Linked DNA regions of Homo sapiens: region 2 is linked to region 1. Evidence: promoter capture Hi-C in human tissues and cell types (Jung and others, 2019). All regions are on one chromosome and are shown on one strand. Each heading gives the region's core, a stretch centred on a gene start or on the middle of the fragment in contact. The rest is flanking DNA. Distances are from core to core; before and after follow the strand shown. Region 1 holds the start of CDK5R1 (cyclin dependent kinase 5 regulatory subunit 1). Region 2 overlaps MYO1D (myosin ID).

Region 1 (4,410 bases), core at 1,079-3,578:
CCCGCCACCACGCCCAGCTAATTTTTTTAGTAGAGACGGGTTTCACCATGTTGGCCAGGCTGGTCTCAAACTCCTGACCTCAGGTGATCCGCCCGCCTTGGCCTCTGAAACTGCTGGACACAGTGTGGCCATCACGCCTGGCCGGGGTGGATTATAGGCTTCAAAATTTGGACATATTTTGGGAAGTGGAAAACATTTAACCTTGGCTCAACACTAGAATCTGAAGGGGGGCACAGAGCCAACTCAGGAGCTAGAGGCTCCAAGTAAGGGCTGAGGAAAAGAGGCTGGGGTTCGGCTTTCCTTTGAGAAGGAAAAGGGACACTTGGTCAGGGTCTCGAAGCAAATCGTTTCTTCTGGCTTTTTTTTTTTTTTTTTTTTTTTTTTTGAGATGGAGTTTCGCTCTTGTTGCCCAGGCTGGAGTGCAATGGTGCAATCTCGGCCCACTGCAACCTCTGTCTCCCAGGTTCAAGCGATTCTCCTGCCTCAGCCTCCTGAGTAGCTGAGATTACAGGTGCCTGCCACCACGCCTGGCTAATTTTTTTTGTATTTTTAGTAGAGACGGGGTTTCACCATGTTGGCTAGGCTGGTCTCGAACTCCTGACCTCAGGTGATCCACCCGCCTCGGCCTCCCAAAATACTGGGATTACAAGCATGAGCCACTGCGTCGGCCTCTTCTGGCTTCTTACTGTTACATGCAGGAGGGTTGAGGACAGCTCCATTTGAAGAGCAGGTAGGCTTGTACACTGAGGAACATTCACAGGGAGGGGCGCACTGAGCTGGGGGCCTGCCTTCCTCTTCTGAGTTCCCATAACAGCTGTTGTGGATGTTCTGAAAGGCTGTGGACAAAGTAGCCCTCTGGGTACAGAGCAATGCATTTTCCACTGTATGCCTTGCCCCCCAAGGTTCCTAAAGCCTGGAATTCCTATTGACAGAAATCTGAGTGGCACATAAACAAAACCCAGCACTTTCTGCCTTGATTGCACCATTTTGAATGATGCCAGATTCCCTTTCTGTTCCCCCTAGGACAGTTGACAGGGCTGGTGAAAGCCTAGTCGGCTGGAGTGGTCAGGTAACTGGGTGGCATCCTCTCCTCTGGAGAGCCACTCCCTCATCTCTAGGTCCAGAGATAATCTGGATTAAGACAGGGCTTAAGTTTCCTGTTTCCCAGGTTTGTGGTCAGTTTTGACTCGATCTCCAGAAACAAGGTAAAATAGTAAATGAACAACAGCCTTTGTGAAGGATCTGGATTCACATCTGACAGGAACAGCTTTCAGAAACAGAATTTTACTCAATTTCGCTAGCATCAAGTTCTCAAATTATACATACTTAGAATTGAAAACGTTTAAGAGGGTCAGAAAGCTGGCCGGAGGGGCAGTTGCTTCAGCTTTAATATGACAAATAAGAGGGCGAGTGGGAACTTAGAGGTCATATTTGTGACGGGCTCAGGCTTGGCTACGGGCCACGCTTCTCTGGCTTGGATCTCTGAGGCCCACTTCGGCCGCGGTCATCTACCCATGATGAGGGAACGGAGGCCCCGGAGGGGTGGCCAGAACCGATTGGACTGTCCACTCGAGGTGCGCGTGGCACTCGGGAGGCCTCAGTAAAGGCGTCGCCTCTCCCCGCCCAGGGCCTTCTTCCCCGCGCTCCCTGGCTGCTTTCCACAGGGACGGGGATGTCAGGTGGAAGGAGGGAGCTCCGGACCCTGGCCTCGGCGGAGGGCTCCTCACCAGGCCAGGGCGGCAGCCTCAGAGAGGGCGGGCCGCGCGCTGCCAGGGCAGGGACTCGGCCGAGAGTGCCCCCGCGGCCGGCAGCTGCGGGCGCCGCGGCGGGAACAAAGGCAGCACGTGTCTGGGCGGGACGCGGGCGGGGTCGGCCCTCGGCTCCGCCCTGCTCGGCGCCCGCCCCGCGTCGGCAGAGTTGGGTTGCGCGGGCGCCGAGGACTCTCCGGCGGCCGGGCTGCTGTTGGGCGGCGGCGCGGAGCGGGCGGCGAGCTGTGCGGGAGGGGCGGCCCCGAGGGGCGGGGCGGGCCGACGCCGCGTGTCCCGCCGCAGCCGCGGAGTCCGGCTCCTAGATGGGGCCCGGCGCGTAGAGGTGCCTCCCGCTCGTTGCCGCGTCCTACCCGCACCGTGCGCGGCTCGAGCTGAGGACACCAACGGCCGCGACTCCCCGGCGAGACCAGGCCGGAGCGTGGACGGCGCGCGCGCCCCGCGAGGGAGGGCGCTGAGGCGCGCGCCGGAAGCGGGAGCGGGAGCGGGAGCGCGGCGGCGGCGGCGAAGGTGCGGGCGGCCGAGCGGGGGGCGGGGCTGCGGTGCCTGCAGAACCTTGGACAGAAGCTCCCTAGCTGCCGCCGCCGCCGCCGCCGCCGTCGCCGCCGCCGAGCGCGAGCCCAGCCGATCCCCGCCGAGCGCCCCCGAGCGCCGCCGAGCGCCGGGACCGCGGCGGCGGGGCCGCGGCGCGCATTGCGGAGGGCGCGGAGCGCAGGAGCTGCCGCCTGCCGGGTAAGCCTGCGCTGGGCGGCCGTCCTTGGCCCTGGGGAGCGGAGACCGGGGTCGCGCCCGTGCGGGGTGTCCAGGCGGGGGTCCTCGGCCGCCTCCGTCGGCGACCGGGCCCCTCCCGGCTGCGCCTGGGGACCGCAGCGGCGGCGGCGGGCGGGGGTGCTGCAGTGGAGGCGGCGAGGCTGCGTCGCGGGGGCGCGGGTAGGGCCCGGGACTGGGGCGGCGGGGTGCGCCGAGGCGCGGGGCGGAGGGGCGCAGGGGCGCAGGGGCGCGGCGCGGAGCCCAGCCTGGCGCTAAGAACCATCTTGTTTTCCAGGCAGATCCAAGGGGGCAGCACGCTTCCCGGGAGCGCCCCCGCCTCCTCTCCGGGGCCGCCGCAGGCTCGGTGAGCGGTTTTATCCCTCCGGCCGGCAGGCTGGGCGCGCAGGGGCGCGAGCCCCCGCCCGGCGCGCAGCAGCACCATGGGCACGGTGCTGTCCCTGTCTCCCAGCTACCGGAAGGCCACGCTGTTTGAGGATGGCGCGGCCACCGTGGGCCACTATACGGCCGTACAGAACAGCAAGAACGCCAAGGACAAGAACCTGAAGCGCCACTCCATCATCTCCGTGCTGCCTTGGAAGAGAATCGTGGCCGTGTCGGCCAAGAAGAAGAACTCCAAGAAGGTGCAGCCCAACAGCAGCTACCAGAACAACATCACGCACCTCAACAATGAGAACCTGAAGAAGTCGCTGTCGTGCGCCAACCTGTCCACATTCGCCCAGCCCCCACCGGCCCAGCCGCCTGCACCCCCGGCCAGCCAGCTCTCGGGTTCCCAGACCGGGGGCTCCTCCTCAGTCAAGAAAGCCCCTCACCCTGCCGTCACCTCCGCAGGGACGCCCAAACGGGTCATCGTCCAGGCGTCCACCAGTGAGCTGCTTCGCTGCCTGGGTGAGTTTCTCTGCCGCCGGTGCTACCGCCTGAAGCACCTGTCCCCCACGGACCCCGTGCTCTGGCTGCGCAGCGTGGACCGCTCGCTGCTTCTGCAGGGCTGGCAGGACCAGGGCTTCATCACGCCGGCCAACGTGGTCTTCCTCTACATGCTCTGCAGGGATGTTATCTCCTCCGAGGTGGGCTCGGATCACGAGCTCCAGGCCGTCCTGCTGACATGCCTGTACCTCTCCTACTCCTACATGGGCAACGAGATCTCCTACCCGCTCAAGCCCTTCCTGGTGGAGAGCTGCAAGGAGGCCTTTTGGGACCGTTGCCTCTCTGTCATCAACCTCATGAGCTCAAAGATGCTGCAGATAAATGCCGACCCACACTACTTCACACAGGTCTTCTCCGACCTGAAGAACGAGAGCGGCCAGGAGGACAAGAAGCGGCTCCTCCTAGGCCTGGATCGGTGAGCACTGTAGCCTGCGTCATGGCTCAAGGATTCAATGCATTTTTAAGAATTTATTATTAAATCAGTTTTGTGTACAGTATGTGTCTAGCAAAGCCACCAAGGGCCTCACCTTTCCCACAGTCTCTCCCTGGGGTTTTTTTCATCCCTGCCAAGAACTCTGGGCACTTTTGAACTCACGAGCCTTGCGCAAAACCCAGAAGATGTATTCAGAGCCACCCAGGCCACTGACCTCCCACTTTGGGGAACTCAAAGGACTGACCTGCCCCTGCCGCCTGTGCCCTTGCTGGGTCCAGGGTAGGCAAGGCTGCCGGCTGCACCCTGTATGGAGCTAGAGAGGGGCCTCTGGCTGCCTGGCCCAGGGAGGAATTGGGGTTTCTGGTTGGAGGCCCTTTTCTGGCTCCTGTGTGGAGTTATTCACTCTCCCAGAGGCTCCTGGAGCCAGCCACCCTAACTGAGCTGCCAGTGGGGTCGTGAGGCAAGATCCCCGCCACCCGGGGACATCTTCAATCTAGGCGAGGCGAAGCTGAGCGG
Region 2 (4,410 bases), core at 734-3,233, 350 kb after region 1:
GAATGAAGCTACTCTTTTTACACTTTTAAAAGTCTCTTGGTAGACATGAATTCTTCTCCTGAGTATATACCTAGGAGTTAAATCGCTAGGTCATAGGATAGGTATAGAGTTAGCCTGAGGAGATACTGCCAGTTTTCCAAAGTGGCTGAAGTAATTTACATGTTTCCCAGCAATGTGTAAGAGTTCCAGTTGCTTCATATCCTCACCAATATTTTTTTCCTTTTTTTTAAATGGTTCATTCTGAATCCTCACCAATATTTGATTTTTGTCAGTTTTTAAAATTTTAGCCATTCTGATGAGTGTGTAATATTATCTCATTGTAGTTTTAGCTCCCATTTTCTTGATGTGCAATGATGTTGTGGACTTTTTAAATGTTTATTGATCATTTGGTTATCTTCTTTTCAAAGTGCCTGCCTTTTCTTTTTTTTTTTTTAACTGGGCTGTTTGTCTTTTTTTTTCTTTTGGTAGTTCTTTAAATGTTCTAGCTATGAGTGCTTTGTCAAATCTTATATTATATAGGACCATAATATATAATAAAAATCTTTTCCCAGACTGTGGCTCATGTTCATTGTTAATGGCTATGCATTACTCAATTAGATCTAACCACCGTTTAATGATTCTCTTACTGCTGGACATTTAGATTATTTTCTTTCTTTCTTTTTGCATCCCTAGGTGGGCACAAATAGACTATTTCTAATTTTTGCTTTAATTAAACACTGATAACCAAAATTTAAAGCTTTATTTGTATCTAAAATCTTTCCTTCATCCATACTCACAGAAGTTGAATTACTGAATTAATGTACACAACCATTTGGTATTGATGCAGACAGAGCCAAACTGGTTCAGAAAAATTCTATCAGTTGATACTGGTGCCCAATAATGCATCATAATACCAACTCACCATGTCCTCACCAACTCTGGCTTTTCCCCTATTTTTTATCAGTCTGATAGGACAAAAAATTTGTATTTCATTGTTTTAATGTTTAACTCAGTGATTACTAGTAAAATCGAAATTACTTTTGTTTAGTCATTTATATTCTCATTTTCATAAACGGTCTTCATTTTGTGTATGCATTTATCAAGTGCTTTTTAGAGTTCTTCTCATTCACTAAGGTATTGTGCTTTTCTTTTCATATAATACTTTACAACATTTTTATTTTTATATTTACTGCAATCATTTCCCAAGATGTAATGTTCTTTGTGCTTTTCAAATTTTTATGTAGTTGGATCGGTGATCACACCCAAGCTTAGAAATATTTTTTCCCTACAATATTCCCCATAAATCTAAGTATTTCCCTATAAATATTCATGTCAAACTATATTCTTAAAATTAAAAAAATTAACTCTTTAATGCCTTAGCAACCTTTTTGGGGGTACTATTAACATACTGGTCTCATCTCTAACTCTTATCTTTTTCCAAATTAATAACCAGCTCTGGCAATACCATTTATCAAATATTCTTTTCCTCTTCAGATTTATGATGCATACCTTATCATTTATTAAATTTTTAGACACGAAATAGTCTGCTTCTGGACTGTCTTTTCAGTTCCATCGATTTGGTCTTAGCCTTATAATTATTTCATTTGACCAATATTTACTAAGCACCTGCATCACGTTAGATTGTAGGGATAAAACAGGGAACGAGACATAGTGACTAGATAGTCACTATTTTTATGGTGCTTGAAGGCTAGTGAGAAGATGGAGACAAGTAAACAGACAGACGGGAAAAGTACAGGCAAGAGCTCAGGCTGGAGAAGTATTAAGGGCGAGATCACACAGGATATTAAAGATCTAAAAAATGAGTTTGCACTTTATCTTGAGAGCAAAGTAAGCCACCGAAGGGCTTCATCGGGGGCAAAGTGTTCAGATAGGCATTTTAGAAAGATCACTTTATCTATAAGAAAATAAAAATAATTTACTAGAGGAAGTCAGGAGTACAGTCAAGGAGCCCACTTAAGGGACTATGAGGAATATTAACAACTGACTCAATACTCTTCTTCAAACTTTTCTATGCTACTTTCACATATTTAGTTTCCACATAAACTTTGAAATTGTTTAGTCAATTTCCCTCCTATACACCCAACTCCAATCCAATTGTGATTTTATTTGGAAGTACACTAAATGCTTAATATATGAAAAATTACAACTTGATTACATATAATTTTCCATAAGGTTTTTAAACAATTGCTATTCAGCCATGTTTCCTTCCATCATATATTTTTGCAAGAATAACATAAGTTGTTAGCAAAACAAAAAACAAGAAAAACAAGCAGAGTAGGAACACCTTAATAGTTTGTCTCAAAGTACAGGAAATGTCAAGAACTAAAGGAAAGCAAAAGCAAAAAGGACTAAGTCTAAGCCAAGAAGGTAGACTAAGCTGTTGGAGAGAACTATATGGACAATTTGTTAATTCAGTGTTAAACAGAGGTATACCTTGGTCCCAAGGAAGAAAGAACCTTATTTTTCCAAGAGCCAAGAAGTGAATAAAGAAAAAACTTCAACCTGAATTCAAAGCAAGCTGGAGCCTTATCAAAATAATTGTAACCTATAGTGGCAGGGCCTAAGAACCAAAGGAGTGGAAAAGACCTGCCAGAGAATTTAAGTGCTTTTAAATTGGGCCAGACTAAGTTAGGAGTAATTGCGTGTGGCTTTAATCAGTTTGAGTTTGGATTCTCTCATACCATAGTGCAGTAAGGCTGTGAACCTGGAAACACTGTGAGCTGGAATATGGACAGCAAGTTGAAGGTAAGGGGCAATTCCAGAGAAAGGCAGAGGATGAAGGGAAGCATGGGGAAGGAAGCTCACCCTATAGGAAGAGATTAATCCTCCTCAACCTCTTCAGTACAAACAAGACAGGACACATAATTCTGTGAGTGGACAAAACAGAGATACTGCTCATATTTTTAGGCCTGTATTTACTCTCAGGATTTTTAATGCATTTTTTCCACAGGGGATTTGTTATTCTGAAAATGGGTTGAGTCTTATTTTGCAACGTGAATAGTGAGATATTTAATACAAGGCAAAATTTAAGAAATTGAAGATCTGACGGTCTGACAAAACTACCAGACACATAATGCCAAAAAGACATAGTTCTCATTCACTTTCCTTTCCAGGGCTGCCATTCAAAGCCGTCTCCTTTTAGAAAGAAAGAATATTTACACAAAAGATCTTGTTTCAATTACAATTTTCTTGTTCCATCTTTTTATGTGGGCAGAGCATAATTCCTTCATTCAGGAGATGTTTACCCCACTGGAGGCACTAGGGCTATAAAGATGAAAAGAGAGATGTAGTTCTTATCCTCCTGGGGTTCATATACAACAGATTATACAGATAAATAATTAGATAATTACAACAAAAAGCCCAGGGTGTTACTGGCGCACACTGGAGAGGATCTGGGGAGTTCAGGAAGCAGCCTGGAGGAAATGGCATCTAAAGGAAGGTTGCAAGGGTATCTCATACGACCCAAGGGTTAGGACCAAGATAATTAGAACCAGATTCTGGAACAGAGCTTTTCTCAACGTGGGAGTGATTTACAAGTATGACCTCTCAGAACACTGCAGAGTACAGCTTTTTACCTGGGTTCAGATTACAGGTGTGTCCGCCAGCCATAAGCACAGCCTTGTCCATCTCCTTCAATGGGCAGTATTTATATTACCATTTGCTATGTGTGTCATGACATAAAAAAGGTTAGGAATCACTGCTTGTAAAGAACTAAGGAAATGTTTTTGCCTTTTGGCTATAATTCATTCTTATTCTCTCCCTCTCTTACTCTCTCGTCTTTCTTTCCCCTCATTCTTCTCTACTCTTTTCTACTCTTCAACCCTCAGAACTTGACTCCCAACAATTCCAAAACATACACATTCTGAATTTCAGCCACCAAAACAGAGAGAAAGATGATTTCATTTCAAATATAAAGTCCTGGGGAAGAACTGTGGTTGGTCCAGCTTGAGTCAGATGCCCATCCTTGGACAAATCAACAGTGACCAAAAGGCAGGAATGTCTTGTGCAGATGATCCCTAACTTATGATGGTTTGATTTTTTTGACTTCATAATGGTGCAAAAGTGATACACATTCAGTAAAGACCATACTTCAAGTACCCATAAAACCATTCTGTTTTTCATTTTCAGAATGGTATTCGATAAATTACAGGAGATATTTAACACTTCAGTATAAAATAGGCTTTATGTTAGATGATTTTGACCAACTGTAGGCTAATGCAAATGTTCTAAACATGTTCAAGGTAGGCTAGGCTGAGCTACGATGTTTGGTAGGTTAAGTGTATTAAATACCTTTTTGACTTACAATAGTTTCAACTTATGATGGGTTTATCAGGCTGTAACCCCATTGTAGGCCAGGCACAGTGGTTCACACCTATAATTCCAGAGCTTTGGGAGACCTAGGCAGACAGA

Evidence for each region. The method cuts DNA at HindIII sites, captures the fragments that hold promoters and counts their contacts. A contact is called where the count stands out against the background at its distance.
Region 2: a contact is called between a fragment that was not itself captured here and the fragment with the promoter of CDK5R1 in region 1, in 1 of the 25 tissues and cell types used here (lymphoblastoid cells).

Annotation. Positions count from the first base shown.
Region 1 is chr17:32,484,665-32,489,074 of GRCh38, forward strand. It overlaps CDK5R1 (cyclin dependent kinase 5 regulatory subunit 1), which reads left to right and starts at 2,329. Exons shown (of 2, transcript NM_003885.3): 1 at 2,329-2,498; 2 at 2,812-4,410. The coding sequence starts at 2,957. The coding sequence ends at 3,880. RefSeq lists enhancers at 1,115-1,616, 2,856-3,415 and silencers at 1,689-2,218, 2,329-2,588, 2,679-2,968. The HindIII fragment of the contact is 18,533 bases long and covers 1-4,410 here.
Region 2 is chr17:32,836,835-32,841,244 of GRCh38, forward strand. All of the region lies in intron 1 of MYO1D (myosin ID), which reads right to left. It overlaps LOC124903981 (a long non-coding RNA gene), which reads left to right. Exons shown (of 4, transcript XR_007065713.1): 2 at 1-4,410. Among named protein-coding and RNA genes, the nearest start is that of MYO1D-DT, 38 kb to the right of the region's middle. The HindIII fragment of the contact is 3,784 bases long and covers 92-3,875 here.